Regions from separate parts of the Homo sapiens genome. Here regions 1, 3, 4, 5 and 6 are each linked to region 2. Evidence: promoter capture Hi-C in 16 types of primary human blood cells and fetal thymus (Javierre and others, 2016). All regions are on one chromosome and are shown on one strand. The core of a region is centred on a gene start or on the middle of the fragment in contact, and the rest is flanking DNA. Distances in the headings are between cores, read along the strand shown.

What was found. The method cuts DNA at HindIII sites, captures the fragments that hold promoters and counts their contacts. A CHiCAGO score of 5 or more calls a contact.
Region 1: the fragment with the promoter of SUGT1 here is called in contact with the fragment with the promoter of ESD in region 2 in 5 of 17 cell types (activated CD4 T cells, non-activated CD4 T cells, total CD4 T cells and 2 more); the score reaches 12.2 in activated CD4 T cells.
Region 3: a contact is called between the fragment with the promoter of VPS36 here and the fragment with the promoter of ESD in region 2, in 2 of 17 cell types (naive CD8 T cells and non-activated CD4 T cells). The highest score is 5.3, in naive CD8 T cells.
Region 4: the fragment with the promoter of ALG5 here is called in contact with the fragment with the promoter of ESD in region 2 in 2 of 17 cell types (non-activated CD4 T cells and naive CD8 T cells); the score reaches 8.0 in non-activated CD4 T cells.
Region 5: the fragment with the promoter of PROSER1 here is called in contact with the fragment with the promoter of ESD in region 2 in 1 of 17 cell types (naive CD8 T cells); the score reaches 5.2 in naive CD8 T cells.
Region 6: a contact is called between the fragment with the promoter of RFXAP here and the fragment with the promoter of ESD in region 2, in 1 of 17 cell types (naive CD8 T cells). The highest score is 5.7, in naive CD8 T cells.

What each region holds. Positions count from the first base shown.
Region 1 is chr13:52,650,749-52,654,715 of GRCh38, forward strand. It overlaps SUGT1 (SGT1 assembly cochaperone of MIS12 kinetochore complex), which reads left to right and starts at 2,088. Exons shown (of 13, transcript NM_006704.5): 1 at 2,088-2,210; 2 at 2,298-2,355. The coding sequence starts at 2,173. SUGT1-DT (SUGT1 divergent transcript) reads right to left here and starts at 1,559. Exons shown (of 1, transcript NR_170300.1): 1 at 557-1,559. RefSeq lists enhancers at 1,389-1,728, 1,838-2,339, 2,449-2,568 and a silencer at 1,819-2,088. The HindIII fragment of the contact is 4,517 bases long and covers 1-3,967 here.
Region 2 is chr13:46,795,726-46,799,218 of GRCh38, forward strand. ESD (esterase D) reads right to left here and starts at 1,436. Exons shown (of 10, transcript NM_001984.2): 1 at 1,380-1,436. RefSeq lists enhancers at 571-1,172, 1,304-1,353 and a silencer at 944-993. The HindIII fragment of the contact is 4,378 bases long and covers 1-3,493 here.
Region 3 is chr13:52,449,199-52,453,133 of GRCh38, forward strand. VPS36 (vacuolar protein sorting 36 homolog) reads right to left here and starts at 1,436. Exons shown (of 14, transcript NM_016075.4): 1 at 1,301-1,436. The coding sequence starts at 1,396. RefSeq lists an enhancer at 1,022-1,602 and silencers at 1,123-1,582, 1,623-1,682. The HindIII fragment of the contact is 2,912 bases long and covers 817-3,728 here.
Region 4 is chr13:36,996,787-37,000,593 of GRCh38, forward strand. It overlaps ALG5 (ALG5 dolichyl-phosphate beta-glucosyltransferase), which reads right to left and starts at 2,554. Exons shown (of 10, transcript NM_013338.5): 1 at 2,449-2,554. The coding sequence starts at 2,514. RefSeq lists a silencer at 2,470-2,769 and enhancers at 3,230-3,279, 3,740-3,807. The HindIII fragment of the contact is 11,758 bases long and covers 1-3,807 here.
Region 5 is chr13:39,035,501-39,039,338 of GRCh38, forward strand. PROSER1 (proline and serine rich 1) reads right to left here and starts at 2,589. Exons shown (of 13, transcript NM_025138.5): 1 at 1,698-2,589. The coding sequence starts at 1,742. It overlaps NHLRC3 (NHL repeat containing 3), which reads left to right and starts at 2,956. Exons shown (of 7, transcript NM_001012754.4): 1 at 2,956-3,223; 2 at 3,636-3,788. The coding sequence starts at 3,140. RefSeq lists an enhancer at 818-927 and a silencer at 2,070-2,299. The HindIII fragment of the contact is 10,591 bases long and covers 1-3,838 here.
Region 6 is chr13:36,816,980-36,820,516 of GRCh38, forward strand. It overlaps RFXAP (regulatory factor X associated protein), which reads left to right and starts at 2,243. Exons shown (of 3, transcript NM_000538.4): 1 at 2,243-2,978. The coding sequence starts at 2,379. LOC124903158 (a long non-coding RNA gene) reads right to left here and starts at 2,092. Exons shown (of 2, transcript XR_007063760.1): 1 at 1,188-2,092. RefSeq lists a silencer at 2,161-2,530 and enhancers at 2,761-2,810, 2,821-3,050. The HindIII fragment of the contact is 8,641 bases long and covers 1-3,537 here.

The DNA of each region.
Region 1 (3,967 bases), core at 838-3,337, 5.9 Mb after region 2:
GGCTGGTGTACACACATTAGTGTATGGCTGAGCCATAACCGGAGCATACCTGAGACTAACCCTATGGTCTAAGAAGAACTTACGTTTGGAGTCCTGGGCTAAGGAATCCAGGAGCAGCCAACCCAGAGATTCACTCCTTATCTATGAAGGACATCCACATCCCTGGCCCGTATCTTACGCTGTACAGATCAAGGCCCTTTGGGGTTAAATGGAGGTTGCTAGAAGGAGAGTGCTAAGTGAAAATGCTATATAGACTACGTGCTTTTTACAAATGGTAGCAGTTCTCCAGGTCAGCCCTCCACCACCGGACCACCCTTGTATGTAAATCCTGAATAAACCTTGTCTCCTTCACTGACTCTGCCTCTCTTCTTACAGTGCCATCCCAACTGGAGTCAGTGGGGTCCAGAAGGACAATTGGCCATTTAGATAACATTTGAAAACTAACCAAGGTAATTCACAGTAACATTAAAAAATACAAATGAACATTTCAATAAAGGCAGAAAAAGCAGTTGATATTCAATGCTTTCCTCCTGATGTTATGACCAAGACAAGGAAGTCCATTATCACTGTTTTTATTCAATAGTGGAAACACTAGCCAGCAACAAAAGGCAAAAATAAATAAAAATAAAAGGTATAAAGGTTACAGAGAAGTTAAACCATCTTTATTCGTGGATTGCAAGATTTTGATCACAGAAATTCCGAAAGAATCTACAGAGTATTACAAATAACAAGGGAACTTAGCAAGATGCTTGCATATAAGGTCAGTATGTTAAAATCAATATTGTTTATTCTTACGAGTAGAATATAAAAAAGTCAAAATGCCATTTAACATTGTATACAAAACACTAAATACTCAAGAATAAATCTAATGAAAGATATATATGATCTCTATACTGCAATCTATCCAAGCACAGCTGCATTAAAATATAGATATATGTGCAATCTACAAAATATTGCCAGGAGAAATTAAAGACCGCTTAAATAAATGGTGGGGGAAGAATGATATTCATGGATTGAAGGACTTGTTGTTAAGATACTAGTTTTCCCAAACAGATCTATAGATTCAATGCGAGCCCAATAAAAAATCCCCCCCCTTTTTAACAAGCTAATTCCAAAATTCACCTAGAAATACAAAGGCCGTAGAATAAGCCAAAACAATCTTGGGAGAATAAGTTACAGGACTTAAAGATTTATTATAAAACTACATTAAATTAACATAGTTTGGTACTGGTATAAAGTTAGACAAAGACTACTCCCTCCCGCTCCTCAATCTGCCCCCATCCCTAGAACGTGCTGGCAGCTTTCTCCATCCGATCTGCAAGGGTTAAAGGGCGCTGAGGAAGGGCTGACCGACTGGGGTGGGAAACAAAGCGGCACTGAGATAACTTCAGGCCACCTTCCTCCCCTCAGTACCTTCGGATGAAAGGTTTCCCTTCTTGGTCTGGGAAGCCCACTAAGAAGAAAGCCTGGGCTGTGGCGTTCTGGGGAAGTGAATAGTACGGCCGCCGGGCGCGTCGCCCCAGGAACCAGAAGGCTTTTTGCCGCTATTAGTGCAGAATGACTTCCGGCAAGTCCCAGTCGTTTAGAATCCCCAGCCCAAAGATCGCGGGGATCCACGCGTCATCCGGGCCTCTGCTCCCGGAAGAGACCACGCAGCCGCTAAAGACGTAATGGAGGCGAAAGGGCTTGGCTAGCTGTGGCAGCCATGATAAAAACTAGGGAAAATGGGAGCTCGAAGTAGCTTCCGTTATTAACAGACATACAAACGCCCCTAACCGCCACACGTTCCTTAGGGATGACAGTACGTTACAAAAGTGCTTCTAAAGTACTACTGAAAGCTCCGTGGGAGTGCCCGCTGGCGTGGGCGCGGTGGAAGGGAGGAAGAACGTGTACGCCCCAGGCCTCCGTAACCATGGCTGCGAGGGGCGGGGACTGGGAGCGCGGGTCCTGGGCCGGGGTGCGGCTGGGAGGAATCGGTCCTCCACTGTCCCAGCCGGCCCCGCGCCGGCGTGTCGCCTCCCGTCCCCCTAGCAGCACGCTGCGTGGCTGCTCGCTGGCTATTTAGGACGGAAGCTCGGTTGGTGTTTCTCCAGAAGTTTCCCCCTTGGGCGGTGGTGGAGGTGGTAACCGTGATAGTAGCAGCTCCGGCGGCAGCAACAGCGACTACGAGGGATGGCGGCGGCTGCAGCAGGAACTGCAACATCCCAGAGGTGCATGTTTTTCTTTCCCTTTGGTATTTATTTTATCCCCCTTTCCTTGGCTAGTGAGCCCTGCTGAAGTCGTTGTTTTCCTGACAGGTTTTTCCAGAGCTTCTCGGATGCCCTAATCGACGAGGACCCCCAGGCGGCGTTAGAGGTGAGAGAGCCCATTTCTGCTTCCTCCACTCTTCTTAGGGGAGCTGGGCCACTTCGGGTCCCCGCTGACCCGCCTTCTCCCCGCACCGCCGGACAGGGACCCAGGCTCTTGTTGATGCTGCGTCTCAGCTCCGGTATTGAGATTCTCCGTCTCTTTTCTCTGTTACACGGTAGCCGCGTTACCCCAGACTCCTGTCTTGCCCTTTCCACTCCCTACAGCTCCTGAGAAAAACCTCCTCTATTTCTTGGGAGCATGGTTGGCATTTGTAGTTTGGCTGAAAGGATTTTTTTTTTAATGACATTTATGATTAGAGAAGTGGACTCTGGGCTCGATGAAGTTAATTTTTTCGTTTGACAATAATTCTTGCCATTCTTACGTAAAAGTGTCGGTATGAAGTCAGTCTACTGGAGCAAAACCCTTTTCCCTCACGTCCCTGAAACTTTCCAGATGTCTTATCACAATTCATTATTCACTCATTTGTATATTCATCAAAATTTTTTTTTGGAGTGGCTGTGTGCAAAGGCGCTGATTGCTGTGGGTTAAAGTCTTGGTTATATACTCAGCTAACCTAGAAATCACTTTTTGTAGGTGTGCAATGAAGGCAAACCATAAAGCTGTAAAGGAATGTAAAAGATCAAGAGTTAAATAATAAGAATTAAAGGAGAACCTAAAGATAAATGATGCTGCGGGTCACAGAATTTAGCCAGGAGTTTTTGTTTGTTTTTGCGTTAAATCACAGAAAAGAGGAAACCTGTTTTGCTGTTACGTTTAACAATTTGAGGCAAGACAGCGTCTTTTCTAGCTATGACTTTTATAAGAAATGTGCCACATGGTACTAGAGCCTCCGTTGAGGAGATCTTTGAGTGGAGATTTGAAGGAACAAGGGAATTAACTTGGAAGCTCTGGGGAAAGAATATTCCAGGCAGGACCAAGAGCCAGTGCAGATCTTGAGGTAGGAATGAAGTTGGCCTGTATGTGAAGCAACAAAAAGGCCCTTTTTATTAGAGGGCCCATTTGATTAAGAGAGGTTGGACAGGAAACTAGGAGCCAGGTCCTATAAGGCCTTTTAGGGTCCAGGTGTGTTTTTTACACCTAAATATATAGACCTTTAGATACTGGGAGTAAGGCTTCTGGGATGAGTTTGGGGATAATGTTACAGGAAGCACTGAGAATTTTTCTCCATAATTTCTTGTATTAGCTAGACAGCTATGACTTTTAATTTACATTTGTTATTGTCGTGTTAGACCTAGTGCTTCCTTTGGGAATCCAGTTTATATAAAAGTTGCTTTTAAACAGTATTAACATAATGAATTTTATTGTCACTTTCCATCTTCTTTTACTTTAAAAATTTTTATGGAGGCATATATGATTTATGTAAATAACACAGATTTTAAGTCTATAGTTTGATGAGTTTTCACATGTTTACACCACCAGATTAAGATACAGAGTATCTCCATTCATAATGCTCCTTAATGCGCCTTCTCAGCCAGTAATTCTTCTTACTGTCCTGCTGACTCCTGCTTTGACCTCCATCACCATCAGTTAGTTTTGTTTGTTCTTGACTCATAAACAGAATCATACAGTAGGTGCTTTATTGAATGTAGACACTCTT
Region 2 (3,493 bases), core at 186-2,685:
CCTGTGTGCAAACACAGTCTTTTTTTTCTTCTTTTTTTTTTTTTTGAGACAGGGTCAAACTCTGTGGCCCAGATTGGAGTGCAGTGGCCTGATCTCGGCTCACTGCAATCATCTCGGCCCCCGGGCTCAGGTGATCCTCCCGCCTCAGCCTCTGGAGTAGTTGGGACCACAGGTGGCACCACCATGCCCAGGTAATTTTTTGTAGAGGAGGTTTTGCCATGCTGCCTAGGCTGGGTCTCTTTTCCTTCATAAAAATTCACATGGCTTGCCTAGGTAAGGATTTCTATTAAACTCTGGGGAAAATTTTTTAAAAAAAATATAGCATCTATAAACGCCAAACACCTTCACATGGCTCTAAATATGGTCTATAATTTGGTCCCAGATTATTTTTCTGGTCTCACTCCCTATTTTGTTAGTTAAACTCAACTATGCATAATTCTAGGATGGCCTGGATGTTGCTATCGGGTGGCTTTACTCAATGCCACGGTACAATGGTTTCAGAGCAGGTTTTGGGGCCAGACCCTCCGGGTTCAAACCCTGACTTCACCACTTATTACTACATGACACTGGGCAAGCTAATCTATGCCTCATTTGCCCATCTGCAAAATGGGTATACAGTAATATATATCAATTTGATAGGGTTGCTCTGGGAATTAAATGAGTTAATTCACGTAGTGCTTAAAATGCTGCTTCTACCACACACACAAACATGAGCTATTATTTTTCCTGCAACCTGAATGCCCTCTCCTTCCAGGTGCGCTCAATCCCATTTCCCTAATGACCCCATCAGAAATGACTTCCAGTCCCCCACAGCGCTCTGAGAGCATTTTACGACCCGAACAGATTTTGTCAAACTCCAAAGACACGTGCTCCCCTCGGCACCATCAGGTGAGTGCTCCTGACCGCGCCATTGGCTCGTGCCCCGACGCGGACGCTGCCTAGAGCAGCAGGTCCACACTCCCCCGAACCAGGCGCCGGCGGCCGCTAGTAACGCGTTGAGGCCAGCTCCCTCCTTAAAATGCGTACACATCTACTTCACATTTTCGCGCGGTGGCTGCGGGTCTAGGAAAGTCTTTCTGAACAGGAAAAAGCTGTACAAATGTAGCGGGCAGTAGGTAAACGGGCGCTCGCCCCGGGTTACACTAGGTTGGAGGCTCAGAGAAGGAAAAGGGATTAGAGGCGAGGCTCCGGGTCACGGGAAAAGGTCCTTGGCCTCCTGTCATGGATGGTGGCGCCCAAGGCCCAGGGTCGCCGTCTCTGCGCTCGTGCCTGCGGATACCTGCACCGCAGGACTCGGCGTCCGCCCCGATCACGCCTAGCCGTGCCGCAGCCGCAGGAAGGCTGACAACGTCCAGGCCTCTACCCGAACCCAGTCTTACCTACGGTGGCGGAGTGACCAGAAGAAGCGGGCCGAAGTAAAAGGCGGGGCTCAAGATGGCCGCCGGGGCCTCGCCTCAGCCCCGCCCATATGATGCCCCGCCCCTCCGGTCCCACTCACTCTCGCTTTTAACTCCGAGAACCCGCTCTTCTCCAGTTCAGTCTCCATGGCCCCGCCGCCTTTGCACATTGCACTTCCCGGCAGCCTCCGCGTGGGCGCCCCCTCCAACTCCTGCCTTCGCCCGCGTTTCTGCTCTGTGTGGTTACTAGGACCAACGAGGAGGGCGTTAGGTTAGTCCCTGTCACCTTGTCGGGGATCAGTCTGCTGTGCGTGCTCAGACTCTTCCCAGAGCCAGCAGCAAGAACCCGAGGCATTAATAAACTTGAGATGTAGCTTCGCTTAACTCGTGCAGAGGGTTTCCGTGTCACTTATGTAGAAACTAGGGCCTAATTTCAACTCCCTCAACTCCTCTGTCCCAAGACTATCCACGTCACCTACTTGGTAGCTTGAGTTAAACAAGAAACCTTTGAAATCTCCAGTGGCCGACACGCAGTGGGAACTCCATCAGTTTTCTGTTTTCTCCCTTCTTCCCTCAATAAAAATTAAGTTGAACTGACTAAGATTTGCTAGTTGATAATTTACAGCAAATCTTTCCTTTTGGTCTCTCTGATTTAAGCAAACTGTTGAGTGTACTTTGCCTCTTGAGAAATTAAATCTGATTACAACAGAGCTAAGTATTTTTCAGCAACGGTTAGACTGACATTGTAAATACACAATCTGATAGTTGGGGCTGGCCTCATGGGCCTGCAACCTGTGCTATTACCCGGCCCCCAGAACAGAAGGACGCTACATTTTCTCTCAGTAAGTGTTGAACCAGGGCCCCACGTTTGTGTCTGGAATTGGGCCCTGCAAATTGTGTAGCTATGGGAGCTGACTTAAGTATGGATGAGCTGCCACACAAGAGATTACCTGCCAGAATCTATTGTGTGGCTCAGGCCCATTTTGCCATAGTGATCTTTGGACTAAATTAACCTGTGGACTGAACCTGTGGATCAATTGGAACTTAGACTGAAAATAATGTTTCATCAAAATAATGTTTTTATTTTGAGAAAGCATTGAAGTAAATTGTTTTAAACTTTCTTTTTACTATCTTTAAGTATAAATCATTGAAAAGGGGATTTTCTTCAGTTTCAAAACTGAAACAGAATAAATACCTAAATTGCAAGTTCTTTATAACTGATGTTTGAACAAAGAGAAATAATTGATTAAATGATATATTTGCCTAATAAGTGGACTGCTGTGAGGTGCAGACTAGCCAAAGAACTGTAAGTGTGAAGTTCTTTACTAAAGGGTTCTTGTGTGAATACAATGTGAGAATAAGCAGAACTAAAATTTCTTTTACCCAGCATAAATAAAATGTTAATAGATCCACAAAAGTCGATTGCTTAAAAATATTAAGAATATATATAATTATCATTATTATTTGGACATGGAAGCAAAGAAGGCTGAAATCAGAAATTAAGGTTGACATTTTAAAAAATGGCACTACCAATAAAAATGGATGAATATTAAGTACACAAAGAAATAGTCCAAAAATTATGTGTAAATGTGTGGCTGAGAGGATATAGGACTCTTGGTTTGAACTAAAATGAGTAGGAATATAATCTTAAGGAGGCAATAAAGGGATGCAATAAAAATGAGAAAAAGTCAAATATACTTGAAGCCTGTAAGAAAAGAGATTGTTTTAGTCAGTTCCAGCTTAACAGAAATTTATTCCTCACCATTCTAAAAGTCTGGGAAGTCCAAGATCAAGGTGCTGATGAAATCTGTTCCTGCTGAGAGCCCTTTTCCTCGTTTGCAGAGGAATACCTTCTTGCTGTAGTCTCACTTGGTGGGTGGGGTGAGGAGAGCTCTGGTTCCTTCATCTTATTGTAAGGGCACTAGTCCCATTCACATGGACTCCACCATCATGGTGTAATTATCTTCCAAAGTCTCCATCTCCAAATACCATCACGTTAAGGATTTAGGGTTCAATGTTTGAATTCTGGGGAACACAAACATTCAATCCATAGCAAAGATAGTTTTAGAGAGACTAGAAAAGACACCATACATAGA
Region 3 (3,935 bases), core at 186-2,685, 5.7 Mb after region 2:
CCGGGCATGGTTGCAGGCGCCTGTAATCCCAGTTACTCAGGAGGCTGAGGCAGGATCTTGAATCTGGGAGGCGGAGGTTGCAGTGAGCCCAGATCGCGCCACTGCACTCCAGCCTGGCGATAGAGCGAGACTCTGTCTCAAAATAAATAAATTAATTAATTAAATTAAGAAGTGCTAAGGCAGTAAGTGAAGTTAGGTCCAAGCAAATTATTTAAGGAAAAGACCTTTACTCACTAATACAGGCAACACAGCCCATAGAAAATGCCCTAAGAGAGTCAGAGGACCTGGGTCCAATGTCACCTGTGCCTCTAAATAGCTGTAAGCACTTACCAGGAAAAGCTGAGTTGAGGAACTTATATCAAAGTACAGCGGAAAGTGTCGTTAATAAAACGGCAAGGGAAGAGAGGTAGCAAATTAAAACTTCTGGAAACCAAAAATGCTTGTGGGTAAATGAGTTTTAAAATTTTTCTAATTCCAGTTTATCCATTTCAATCCAGGACAAGATATTTCATAGTTTCAGTAAAGTATCTACAAAATATTTACTTACACTTCCTATTTCTCCTCTCGATTTGCAAACGCACCTTCTAAGATTTATGCTTGCACTACAAGGCACGGTCTACTATTAATATAACACTTTACAAAACACGCTCAGAACGCCTTTCTAAAGCAATTAGAAAACAAAACAAAAACCCAATAGCCTTTGGCAAGGGCATTCCAATGAAGCACTGATACCTCTTTAGGAAATCCTTTCGAAGCAATCCCTCACCCCTCTGCCCAGATATGCTAATCCCTCCGACTGCATAAGGTCCAAGCTAAAGCTTCCGCTGGGGCACGGACTGTACGGCCACCGCGCCCTCCTCACAGAAAGGCGAAACGGGGCTGTCCGGTGCCGACGCCGAGGTTGGTGTCGTCAGGGGGTCTGGAACCACGCCAAGGAAGTCGACTGCCGGATCGCCGCCCGGCGCCCGCAGACGGCGAGCGCTCCTTCTCCCGGGCACTGCAGCTGTGCGCTCCCGGAAGCATTCCGGGCGGAGGGAAGCGGCCGCGATCCGCGCCTGCTGGGAACCGTGCCAAAGTTGGGACCCGCGCTGGGGAGGCAGCCGAGCGCCCCACGCCACGTGCTACCGACCGGCGGGGAGCGCAAGAGCGCTGCACCCCGCACAGAGGCCTGCCGGGCCGCCGAGGGCCGTGAGCTAAGCCGGGGACCGGGCCGCGCCGACCCGGGCCGCGCTGAGCCGGGCCGCGCGCCCACCGGGGGTCCCTTCCGCCAGCCCGTTGGGAAGGTTGGCAGACGCCCTACCTTCTCCTCGCCATCGTAGATTCGCACCCCGCGCTGCTGGATCACCAGGGTCTCGTTGATCTCCAGGAGGCCGCTGGTCCAAACGAAGCGGTCCATGGCCGCTGCCACCCAGCCCCGGCCCTCCGAGGCCGCGAGCAGCGCGCCAGGCAGCCTGCGGCGCCCCCTAGCGTCGGACGGGACGGAAGCGAGTCGGGGCGGGTGAGGGACGGAGGGAGCGGCCTGGCAGCGAGCGGGCGCGGCTGCGAGGTGCGCCCGGGGACGTGGAGACGTGCGTGGAGCGCCCCCTGGCGGTCCATTAGCCGCCGGCCTTTCAGAACCCTTGATCAGCAGGCGGTCCACCCCATTCTAAATTCAGAGCTTACAGGGACGCGAGGGAGCCCCGACCACAGCTTGGACTTGCTTATTGTGCATTATGCCTGCATGTTTGTGGCAGTTTTCTTGTCAGTGCCCAGAATGTTGCTACATTCGCTAATGATTGTAAATAATCATAACCCCTCTCTTTCAAATGAATATTTATGGCACGCATTGTTTCTGTACAGCTGCAGTCAGTACTACCTGTGCTGCTCTTTTTTTCCCTTTAAGATTATATTGTAACACAAAGGATAAATGCTTGAGGTAACGGATACCTCATTTACCCTGATGTGATTATTATACAGTGTATGCCTGTATCAAAATATCCCATATACCCCAGAAATATATACACCTATGTACCCACACAAATTAATTTTTTTTTAACTGGGGGAAACAGATTTTATTTAACCGGGCTTGATGCGCGCGCCTGTATTCCCAGCTGCTTCCGAAGCTGAGGCGGGAGGATTGCTTGAACCCAGGAGTTTGACACCAGTGGGCGACATAGAAAGACCCTTTCCCCCTCCACCCCAACTCCCCCACGCCACTCCACTCCCCCACCCCCAGGCTCAGAAAAAAAAGATTATTTTTATTTAGGCATTTTCAATATTAATACAGACCTCATGCGTGAATTTACATTTCAATATGTAGTTCCTCTATAATTTAGCTGTTTGTTGGTCTGCGCAAAGCCATCCATGGCCGCTGCTCTCACCCACCAGGCGGCCTCGTGCCCCTAGCCATTTCATTTTTGTATTTTGCTTTATAAATGGAACACCTGGCCGGGCGCGGTGGCTCACGTTTGTAATCCCAGCACTTTGGGAGGACAAGGCGGGCGGATCACAAGTCAGGAGTTCGAGACCAGCCTGGCTAACATAGAGAAACCCTGTCTCTACTAAAAATACAAAAAATTAGCCCGGCGTGGTGGCGGGTGCCTGTAATCCCAGCTACTCGGGAAGCTGAGGCAAGAGAATCGCTTGAACCCTGGAGGTAGAGGTTGCAGTGAGCCGAGATCGCACCATTGCACTCCAGTCTGAGCGACAGAACGAGACTCTGCTTCAAAAATAATAATAATAAATAATAAATAAATAAATAAATGGAGCAGCTTATAGATGTCCTTCTACAATTGATACATATTTTTCTCTTTAGGATTATTTTCTTACAGTGTCTTCCTAAAATAGAATGACTGCTTTAAAGGTTGTGAACACATTTTAGAGAGCCTACCACTTATTGGGGTCTTAACTAAGGCTGCGTGCCCACGTGGGCAGAGGGGCACAGGGGCAGAGGGACAGAGGGCAGGCTTGCTCTCTGCCCCCAGGGCTCCACATTTCCCCCAGTCGTGGAGTCAGTGGTCTGTGGCTAGGCATTAAAAGAAAGGAAAGGCTCTTTCCAATGAGTATAAGCCATCTCTCCCCCGAAATGAATTGCTACTTTTACCGTGTTCCAAAATCCTGTGTGTATTTTGGTCTATTTCTAAACAGTGTCTTCTGTATTTCATATCTTTCAATTTCCATCATGACCATATACCCAATAACCAAAAGTTCTTTGAAAACATTTGATTTGCTGTAATATGCTATCAATATATATCACAATTTACCATCATTGCCTGATTTTTGAGCATTTGATTGTTTACCAACTTTTTAGTCTTTTTTAATTGAAAGTAATGTGACCTAAGCATCCTAATCAGATGTGGAACTGTGCAGTTATGCCTGGGCTTTGCAATTATCAACATGTTAGGCAGTGAGGACATTTGCAAGGTATGTTTTCTGCCCTTGAGGGATGTACAGTCTGTAGGACACAAATAGAAGCCTGGCATATGATAGCTGCTGGGATAGACAACCGTATAAGGGTTTCCTGTATCCAGGCTGGAGCAAGGAGAAACGTCATGTGGCTTATATATGGCAATAAATGAATAGACAAAAGGTTTTAATTTTTATGAAGTTCAGTGTATTTTTTTCTTTCATAGTTCATGGAATTTGCCTATTTAAGAAATCTTTTTTCCACAAACCAGATATTGATACTGATTATGAAATCTTTGCCTAACACAAAGTCACTAAGATTTTCTCCTATAATTTCTTCTAGAAGCTTCATAGTTTTGGTTCTTACATTTAGGTCTATGCTTTTTTTTTTTGAGACAGAGTCTCACTCTGCCGCCCAGGCTGGAGTGCAATGGCACAATCTCGGCTCACTGCAACCACTGACTCCTGGGTTCAAGCGATTCTCCTGCCTCAGCCTCCCGAGTAGCTGGGATTACAGGTGCCTGCCACCACGCCTGGCTAACTTTTGTATA
Region 4 (3,807 bases), core at 1,304-3,803, 9.8 Mb before region 2:
AGGATACAATGAGAATATTTCACTTTGCAACCCGCAATGAAATAAAGCATTTAGGTAATGATCCTCAATGACTACTAAAACCATTAGGCTGATGACAAACTTTATAAACTGGTGGGTCTGGCTGGCAACATTTGAAACCACAGATCCATCTTAACACCAGAGACAAATGGCCATTACATGACTCCTGATGAGACACAAGAGAAAGGAAGAAGCATCACTCACAATTTTTTCTTGATTAAAAAACACATCGAGTATGTATGTGATCAGGTCTCTCCATCCTAACTACCAGTTTATAGAAAATTTGAGATAGAAGATGTTAAAAGGCATTAAGGGGATGCAATCAAAGAAATCCAAATTGTGAGAAGTTCTACAGGACAAATGATCATATTAAAGACAAGGAAAAAGGCCGGGCGCGGTGGCTCATGTCTGTAATCCCAGAAGTTTGGGAGGCCGAGGAGGGTGGATCACCTGAGTTCAGGAGTTCGAGACCAGCCTGGCCAACATGGCGAAACCCCATCTCTATTAAAAGTACAAAAATTAACCGGGAGTGGTGGTAGGCGCCTGTAATCCCAGCTACTCAGGAGGCTGAGGCAGGAGAATTGCTTGAGGGCAGAGGTTGCAGTGAGCCAAGATCACACCACTGCACTCCAGCCTGGGTGACAAGAGCCAGACTCCGTCTCAAAAAAAAAAAAAAAAAAAAAAGACAAGGAAAAGAAAAAAAGGGGGAGGAGAAACTGTCAACTGATTAAGAGACTCAAGACATCAACAGAGTACAATGTGTGGCACTTGTTTGGATCCTGATTGGAACAAACAGACATATATACTGAGACATATATGAGACAAGTGAGGGCAAGTGAACTGAGGGGGCATTTGAAATCACAGAATAAATTTAAATCTGTGACCACTTTATTGTGGTATTTTAAAAAGAAGGACCTTATCTGTTAGAAATAAATGCTGAGGATTTAAAGATAAAATGTCTTCGAGTTGTTTTAAAATAATTCAGAAAGGAGGTGAGACTGTGAGTAATGGAGAGTGGATACATATGAAGACAGGATGAGGTTTTGAAAAATTATTTTTTTAATGATTTCTTGCTCTGGCATTTAAAAAACCTAAGTTTCACTAGTTGTGCAACATTTGAGTACACGAGCTCATTTCTCCAACATGTTTCCTCACCAGTAAAATAATGCTAATGATAACATATATGTCACAGTGTTAAAGATTTAATAACTCCTATTAAACCAAGTGCAACACAACATATAGTAAGTACTACAATCAATAAATGGTAGCTCTTATCACTTCAAGCTAGTGGGAACAAATACCGTCAGTACAATCCCATAAAATCTGTGCAAAAGACCCAAAGTAAGGCAGCTTCAATCTAAGAATGTGTGAATCCACTCCCCGCCCGCACCCCGCCAAAAATCAATCAATCAATCAATCAATCCTGGTTTGCTCAAAAACTTGAAAAAACAAAAAAGCCCTAAACCCTGAAATCTCTACTAGTTAGGGCAAGAGAGGACTCCTCTCTCACCCAGATACTATCAACAAAGAAGTAAGGATGCATTACATTTTATCTAAACTGTAAATTTATACAACCTCTGGAAAGATGGCAGAGTGGCCTTCCTGGCAGTGCTGTCTAGGTGGCTAATCTGAATGTCAAGGAAGCTGAAATCCTCTCCACTTACTAACTAGAGGGCAGGCTCATTCCAAGGTGTGCGGGAGAGAGTTCGCCAATTTTCTACCACTTAACAATCAGCAAGTGTTTACAATGTTTTTGTGTTTCGAGAGCAAGGGCAAAGACAATCGAGTTTGCATTCTATCGTCCTGCCTTGTTTAGGGGCAGTATATTTAGGGTGCTTAATTCTGGGACACAATGCGACCCCGGACAAGGCGCCTGAGGCCTGTCTCTCTCGCTCACCCTGCGTCCCTAGTGGGTCTCATCGATCCACGCATTTATTCCCATTTGTAACAGATGGCTGCCGTCAAGGCTCCGTCACCCCTATTTGCTTAACCACATCAGCCAAGGGAGCAGGCTAGGGAGCACACCCCTTCTGGGGGCTCGAGACCTCCCTGGGTGGAGCAGAACTGCAGCGGCTGCAGGTCCCGGAGAGTCTGGGAGAGGTCGAGGTTGACAGAGGAGGTGGGTAGGGGGCGCGGGCGCCAGGGGCGATGGAAGCGGCGATGATGCCAGGCCGGGTGGGTGCGCTCCAGTGTGAAAAAACTTACAAGTCTCTGAGCACACAAAGAGATAAGATTCCAAGGGAAAATTAAAGAACCGAAGAAAAGGAGAGTGAAACTCCAGGAAACTCCGAGGTCAGGAATTTGGGGGAATCTAGGGGAAAAGGGACTTCTCCGAGAACTGGTAGCGCGGAGGAGGGGACGCCTGAGGAGCCGCAGTCTCCAGGAGAGCGGTAAGCCCCGGCCTGCGCGGGTTCCCATCCCTGTTCTCACCAGTACGAGGGCTGCGGCCGCCAGCGCCGCGCCGAGCACCGCCAGCTGCAACAGAAGCGGAGCCATTCTCCATGCCGTGGCAGCCCGCCCAATCCCGCACCTCCACACAGGCGGAAGCGCGCCCGCGCGACCCGGCCCCGCCGCCAGAGAGGTCGCGCCCGCTGGCCGCAGCGCCCCCGCGTGGCGAGGCGGAGAAAACGCCGCTCTCGTGCCCTCGGCGCCCAGTCGGTGGAGAGGAGCGCTAGGTTCCACAGCGGGGCGCCAGGTTTATCAAGTATGCAAGACGTCTACTTAATTTGAATTTCAGATTAAAAAACTAATCATGTTTTTAACAGCCTTATTAAGATAGCCACATACCATACGACTCATCCAGTTACAGGTTTCTGGTTTATTACATTAGTTTTTATAAACTGTGGTAAAATAAAAAGTTGCCATTTTAATCATTTTAAGTTTACAATAGTGAGTGGCATTAATTACATACATACTGTGCAACCATCACCACTATCTATCTGTAAAGCCTTCCCAGCTCCCTCCAGGTTCTGGCAACAACTAATTGCATGCTCTATTTGGGGCATACTCATGCTTTAAAAAAAAAAAAACCCACAAAAAAACAAAAACAAAAAACAAAAAAACCACGCTGTGTTTATCAGACATTCAAATTTAACGTGGTATCCTGTATTTTATCTGGTAACCCCACCTAGGAGGGAGATGGCAGCCTTGAGCACGACACAGTCTACAACACAAGGTGATGCTTAGGAGCCCTCAGCTCCGGGACCTGCAGAGCAGAACGTGGTGCGGACAATGAGCGCACAGAAAGTTCAGGTTTCTCGGCCGAGCGCCGTGGCTCACGCCTGTAATCCCAGCACTTTGGGAGGACGAGGCGGGCGGATCACAAGGTCAGGAGATCGAGACCATCCTGGCTAACACGGTGAAACCCCGTCTGTACTAAAAATACAAAAAATTAGCGGGGCGCGGTGGCGGGCGTCTGTAGTTCCAGCTACTCGGGAGGCTGAGGCAGGAGAATGGCGTGAACCCGGGAGGCGGAGCTTGCAGTGAGCCGAGATCGCGCCACTGCACTCCAGCCTGGACGACAGAGCGAGACTCTGTCTCAAAAAAAAAAAAAAAAAAAGTTCAGGTTTCTCATGTGTTGGAGCACGGAGCCCTTGACCAGTGAAGAGGCAAGGCCAGGGCTGAGCCTAAGTCACAGGCAGAAAAAAGACGCAGAAACATTGGAATAACGCTCCACACGCACTGCTTGATTCTGCGCTAGAAACCCTGTTATCTCCGAACTGTTGGTGTTATTCTGAGTCACAGCACCAGCTCTTTTATAAAGAGGGAGACCCGCTCCTTCTTTAACAG
Region 5 (3,838 bases), core at 1,339-3,838, 7.8 Mb before region 2:
GGAGAATCAAAACAAATAATGACTGGAGAAAGTGCTTAAAAACAGGCTCACAAAGTAAGTGCTCACTAATTAATAGCTATCATTCCCTCCTTTTTGAATAATCAGTTAACCATTGCTTTTTCCCCCTTTCTACTCCCTTTCCCAGTTCTTCTGCTAGTGGCTTCTTATATGCCTCTGTTTTAAATGACAGTAGTGACAATCAGTATTATCTATCATATAAACTCACTGTGATACTCAAGAGATGACCTGGTTTAAACTGACTTACATTTACAAAGAACGATTTTTAAGAAAATCAGTAGTAATGCTCATATTTAGATATGCCAATATTTTATTCCATTTTAATAGACCATGACAATGTTGATGTGTCTAATCACTCGGCAAAGCCAGCAGAAGATATATTTTAACTGCTGACCAGAAATACAGACTTAAGTTGCCATCTCATGTGAACAACACTTTCATATCTGGAAAATTTCCTATTCCCCTCTTTAGAATTTACTGTGACGTTTTTATGACACCAGGAAGAGAATATGCACACTGAGACCCTGTATCTTCCAAAAGTAAAAATCTGCTGGTCTACTTGGACTCACCAATTATTTTCTCATGAAAAGTAATTAAAAATCAGCCCAAGAACAAATTGTGACAAATTTCTAGGCATATAATTAGCAAACCAATATTTTATTTCAAAAATTAATTGGACACTTAGGTTTGCAAAAGCAGAACTTGTTCAAAAAAGAATGTTCAGTATTATCAAATATGAAAACTTAAACACGTCAATTTGAAAAAAGAAAAAAGCTGTATAAAAACAAAGCAAAACAGCAAGACCAGAGACAATTTTAATAATAGCTTTGTAAACTGAAATAAGCACCAGAGCACATGGCAACAATTTCTTCCGTTTCAGTCAAGGGTCGTAAAGGTATGCAGCTGACGAAAGAATAATTGCCCGGAAGGCCGAAGGAAAGCACCGTGTGTTGATGTAACAATGGTACATCAAGTCCTTACATTTTAAAATAAGTAACTTCTCGGTATTTTTGTGCTTGAGATATTGTTAGGCTCAAGACTACCTTCCAGAATTGTTGCTGTCTGGTTCACTCTGGGAAATGCGATCCACACAACAGCCTCAAAAAGCAGCAAAAACTTGGAAAGCAGGAGAAAAAAGTTTTGAAGCTCAAGTTATTGACGGCCAATTCCTAAGAACGTGACTTTAAACTTAATGCCACACTTACCATCAGGACACGAATTTTGCATGGCCAACGCAACAAATATACTCTACCTTATGCTTAGATTTGAAAACCCCATCATAATAACTACCATAAAAGAAACTTTCTGCGTATTACCTCTCGTTTTCAGTCACTCTTGTGTTACTGAAAGATGAGGCAATAAACTCAAAAATATTAAACCCCTTACCCAAAAAGTACAGAGCTATTACGGATTTGTAAAGCCGGCTTTGGAACCGAGGGCTTTACAAATGTAATTCCCACGACACCGTGCTGAGTCTCAAATTTGGCGTTAACGTAACTTAATTTCTATTTGTACTGGAAACGTATCAAGATATAAACTCCTCCATTACACGTGAAAATTCAAACCAATTTGGCAATCCTAGGACCCTTATTCTGCACAATCTCCATACAGTACCTCAAAGAGAGTCTAAAACACGAGAATTCATCTCATAAAATAATTCATGGAATCGGTCTAATTACCTTTCTAATTTCATCCAGCACCATTTCAAAGGACTTTTTATCCATCTTGACTACTATCCCGACGTGGTTTTAACAGTTATACTTGCAATTAAAAGACGTTCATCCCTGGTCTGCTCCGCCGATAGTAAAAAATATTTATAGCTGAGGAGGAAAAAGACTCCACGAGCAAGAGAGGATGCGAAGAGGTAGAGAGTATTGCAAACTTCGCAAAAAAAATTTCTAAAAATTGAGATTCAGAAAAACTCTTTTTATTAAAAAGAAAAAACACTCCAGTCAGGCTTCCCCAGCTTATTCACACAATGGTTCAGGGCACCTCGGGCAAGAGCCAGGTCCTCTGAGTTTTGCAGAAAAACCCGGGCTCGGCGGCAGGTTTGAGTGCGGTTTCCCTGCAGCTGAGGGCCAGGTGCCGCCAGAGGTAGCTCTTGAAGGCGCTTTCCCAGGTGGAGCGGCCGGCAGAGTAGAAACACCTGCGCTCAGAGTCCACGGGCGGCGGGGAGGGAGGCGCCGGTCTCTCGACCCGCACCTGCGCCTCGGCCGCCGGCCGCGACCCTCACCGCCGCGAACCCGGACGCATGGTCCGGCTCGCGCTCATCCCCAGCCGCTCCGCCCGACTCCTGGATACCTCGGCCCCGGCAGCAGGCGGCCCGGCAGGCTCTTTGTTACCAGCTGCTGCAGCTTCCGGGAGCGGGCCGGCGGCTGGGGAGCACCAGGAGCCGGGCGAAGAGGGGCACGGCCTCGCATAGGGGGACTCCGGAAAAACGCAGCCCCAACAGCGCCAGACGCCCTGCCTGGTTACCCCTACAGCCCCCACCAGCTCATGGGGACCTACAATAAAGCCAGTCGCGCCCAAGTAAACTCAACACTGCGCCGCCAGCTTGGGCCCCTCTTTCCTGAAAGCCAGAGGTGGGGTCCTGGTGTGGGAATATAGGCATCCATAGCGGATGCCTGGATGGTAGGAATAGGATGTGGCAAAAATCCTTCCCGAAGCCTAGCGGTCATTATTTTGAATGTCATCCCCACCATACCTCGTGTCTGAGTGTGCGATGTTTTGATTTTGCCCTCTGGATTAAAAAGAATAAATGGCGAGCGATTAAGGCATATCTACGGGCGCCCATACTTTGGTGGCCACTGAAAGTCAGCGGCGCGGACTGCCCTGAGGGCGGGAAAGGGTGGTCACTGGGTCAGCCCGAAGCACCTGACATGAGGGCGGGGACCCCGAAATGCACACGAAGTCCGGAACTGGTCTTCTGTGATTTTCATTCGCCCTGGTCTCTGTTCCCTTTCGTACTCAAAGCTCGTGCATCCAGGGAGGGGAAACCGGAGATAGGGTCTTCGGGCCCCGGGCAGACCCTCTGTGCCGCTGCAAACCGTTGCAGCCTGAGGCTGTCAGGTCCTCCCCCAGACACCTGCGGACCCTCCCTCTCCTGGCTTCCCGTCTGGTCATGGCGAGATTCTGGGTCTGCGTAGCCGGTGCTGGCTTCTTTCTTGCATTTTTGGTTTTGCATTCGCGTTTTTGTGGCTCTCCAGTGAGTTGGGTAGTGAGGAAATGACTGTCGGGTGTGCGGGTAGCCCTGTTGGGAGGCGTCGCCACGGTCGTGGCATGGAGGTGGCAGGCCCTGGTTCCCTCAGTAGCTTGTCTCAAAGCCTGCACCTGGGTCCAAACTGCCTTGACCCTTTGAGTTTAAAAATTTGTGTATGTTACATCGCCATTTTCCTCTTTCCCAACTCTTACTACATCCTCAAATAATTTGCAGACTTGTATTGTGGTCGTGTTGGTCTTTAGGCATCTAAGCTCATTTCTTTGGAATTATTTCAGTCCAGCAAACTTCTAGTTGTCAAGGCATGCTTAAAAATAAGCCCTGTTACCCGGCCCCCCCGCCCTTTTTTTGTTCTTACCTAGACGGTAAACTAAATCTGAATTGTCTGATTTTGTTTAAGGTTTTGAGGAACTTTACTTTTGCAGTTTCCTGGAGAACTGAGAAAATTCTTTACCGGCTGGATGTGGGTTGGCCTAAGCACCCAGAATATTTTACCGGAACAACATTTTGTGTTGCAGTTGACTCCCTCAATGGATTGGTTTACATAGGTCAAGTAAGTAAATAGAGATTTAAAAAAATTATGAACACAAAGGAAGTAACAGC
Region 6 (3,537 bases), core at 993-3,492, about 10 Mb before region 2:
TGATGGGATGATCTGTGCAGTGAACTACTATGGCACGTGTTTATCTATCTACCAAACCTGCACATCCTGCACATGTATCCCTGAGCTTAAAATAAAAGTCGAAGAAAAAAAGTAACATTATTTATGAATAAAGTTATATTTTTTCATTTAAAAAAAGGAATAAATGCTTGGTTTCTGTCCAATTCAGTAAAGAAGTAAAGTGTACTTTTTGTTCTTTTTCTTTTTTTTGATGATGGCAAGGACATAAAGTTTTGACATGAATGTTGATAGACATTTTTGTTTATATTGAGAAAAAACAAAAGTGAAACAATGAAGATGTATATAAGGTCTTCACTTGTTCAATGATGTGATGTAAGCAGTTTCTTTGCTGAATTGCATGATAGTTTTCAAATACTGAAAGAATATTTTCTCAGTTGGGGGGGTTGGATATTCACAATGTGAGAGCTGCAGATAGAATACATTTTCAGTTTAATCTTTTTCTTTTTCTTTTTTTCTTTTTTGATGGAGTCTCACTCTGTTGCCCAGGCTGGAGTGCAGTGGCACAGTCTTGGCTTACTGCAATCTCTTCCTCCTGGGTTCGAGCGATTCTCATGCCTCAGCCTCCTGAGTAGCTGGGATTATAGGTGTGGACCACCACACCTGGCTGATTTTTGTATTTTTAGTAGAGACGGGGTTTCATCATGTTGGTCAGGCTGGTCTCGAACTCGTGACCTCGTGATCCACCTGCCTGAGCCTCCCAAAGCGCTGGGATTACAGGTGGGAGCCACTGAGCCTGGCCTTAAATTTAATCTTCATTAACATTTTCACTGTCACTTTCTTAAGTGCAGAGACAATCAGCAATAAGTGTAAACCTGCTTCGTAGCATTTGATCATTTCCCTGGTGTAAATACTCCAAAAGTGGCTGATTTCAAGCAATCAACATGACATACTGAAGGCAGAGTTGGGAAAATGTGCAGTAACACACCACTAAATAATATTTCCGCATACAGATACAATAGACATAAATAACCTTAAAAGCACAGATAATGATAAAACATAATAAAATAATTAGAAAATGAAGAGTTTTGAGATTTGTACCCTTTGTTTTTAATATAATCTTATTGTAAGTTTATGTAGTAAGACTTTTAATAATAGCAGTGTTTAATTTTTCTGCTAATTATATTCCTGAAATTTTAGCAACCAGTTACCATCAGTTGGCGCTAGCACACCACCGACTGCAGGCTTTACTGATGAGGAAACTGAGGCTCGGAGAGGCTGTCACGAACTTGCTGTAGTCACACAGGAAGTACTACCTAGGTTGCTCTAATTCCAAACCTTCTCCCTTCCATATGCCTCTCTTTAAAACATAACTGATCTACCTATATGTCAGCACCCAAACATCTTAGTGTGAATGGATTTATAGTTTGTTGAATAAAGTCATTGCTTTCCGGTAGGTGGGATGGGAAATCTGACTAGGCGAAAGAATAGGATGAAGGGAAAAAGAACATCTACTTAACAGTTCAGGATACGGCAGGATATTTTCTCTCCTGGGATTTGGGCAAGCCAAGATTTAACAACCAGCAATTGCCCAGCAACTGATAGAACTGGTAGAACATTCATTGTTTTTTTAAACGTTTGCCATTCAGTATTCCTTTTCACACATTTTCACTGTGTTAAACGAAAACGTTAAGACTTATCTCAGCAGCCACAGCAAAGAGCAAGTACTAACAATCAAGTGAGTTTCCAGGAGAAAAAAAACAAAGTTATCCCTCAATGCAAATACAACTCGGCCAAAGGTGTGGCCCATCCCTCTCCGCTCCACTATTTTCAAATAAGCCACCTCTGCCTTCATGGACTGCGAGCTAGTGACTCTAGGCTGTGACACCACTGCATCCCAGCTTCAAATCTCCCCTTGCAGGCAGTTTGTGGGGGAAATAATAAAATTAGCATCCTAACACTACAAGTCGTGAGACCGCTCAGGAACAATCCTAATTTGCATACTGGAACTCCTGTAGAAGATACTTTGAACCGCTTTAGATACAATAGGATCAGGTAAAACGGCGCTGCCTTGCCAGCCACTGCAGGTTTTCACCTGACACAGCCCCCAGACCCTGTCTACGAATCCCCCAGCTGGCCGAAGGGGCCGCGGCCGCACATGCGCAGTCAGTCCCGTTGGTTGTGCGCTCAGCCCCGCCCCCAGAGGCGCCGCGCTCCCTGACAGCCCGCGGGCGTACACACGCTGACGCGCAGGCTGCGGTCGCGCAGGCGCAGTCGGGGCGCCTTCCCGGTATAGGCGCCTTTTACCCCAGCGTGTCCTGAGTCTTTGGTTCGCGAAGTGCCGTTAGGCCAAGCAGGTGCTAAAAGCCCGGGGTCGTGGACCCCGGCCAGGTCTTAGCAGCATGGAGGCGCAGGGTGTAGCGGAGGGCGCGGGGCCGGGCGCCGCCAGCGGCGTGCCCCACCCCGCGGCCCTAGCCCCGGCTGCGGCTCCCACCTTGGCGCCAGCCTCGGTGGCGGCCGCGGCCTCTCAATTCACCCTGCTAGTGATGCAACCCTGTGCTGGGCAGGACGAGGCTGCGGCCCCCGGGGGCAGCGTTGGGGCGGGCAAGCCCGTTAGGTACCTGTGCGAAGGGGCCGGGGATGGCGAAGAGGAGGCTGGGGAGGACGAGGCGGACCTGTTAGACACTTCGGACCCTCCGGGGGGAGGCGAGAGCGCGGCTAGTTTGGAGGATCTAGAGGACGAGGAGACTCACTCGGGGGGCGAGGGCAGCAGCGGGGGCGCCCGGAGGCGGGGCAGCGGTGGGGGCAGCATGAGCAAGACCTGCACCTACGAAGGCTGCAGCGAGACCACGAGCCAGGTGGCCAAGCAGCGCAAACCGTGGATGTGCAAGAAACACCGCAACAAGATGTACAAGGACAAGTATAAAAAGAAGAAGAGCGACCAGGCCCTGAACTGCGGTGGGACTGCCTCGACTGGCAGCGCGGGAAACGTCAAACTCGAGGTATCAGACTTAGCTGAGGCCTGGGGATGGGAGGTGGAAGAAGAAACCCGATCTTAACGCAAACCGCATCTGCAGGGCCTGCCTCCCCACTTCCAAATGGGCCGGTTTGCAGTGACTGGGTTAGTGGTTGAGAATTAGAGTGTTTGCCCTAAATTAAAGTTTATACCAACATGTGCAAAGCAATAACAGTTCTGTTGAACTCATGATAGGTGCAGAAATTTCAGTAAAAATAATGTGACATCGGCAGAGCTGTCATAGATCTGGGATATGGCTGGAAGGACATAGAGTAAATGATCGGTCTGGTTCATCGCTAAAGGAGACTTAGGAACCTAGATGAAGTTGGTACTTCTGAGAAAGTCATCTCTTTCTGTTTTCACTACTCTATTCTCAGTATCCAGTTCTCAGTACCCAGTTCTCAGTACCTCTATTTGTAATACTCCTGTATTTAGTACTTTGTTTTTAGTGTCCTGTTCTGTTAACCCTCTTCCTAGTACCGTATTTTTAGTACTGCTATACTCAGTTGCCTGTCTGTAGTACCCCTGTACGTAGTACTCTTTTC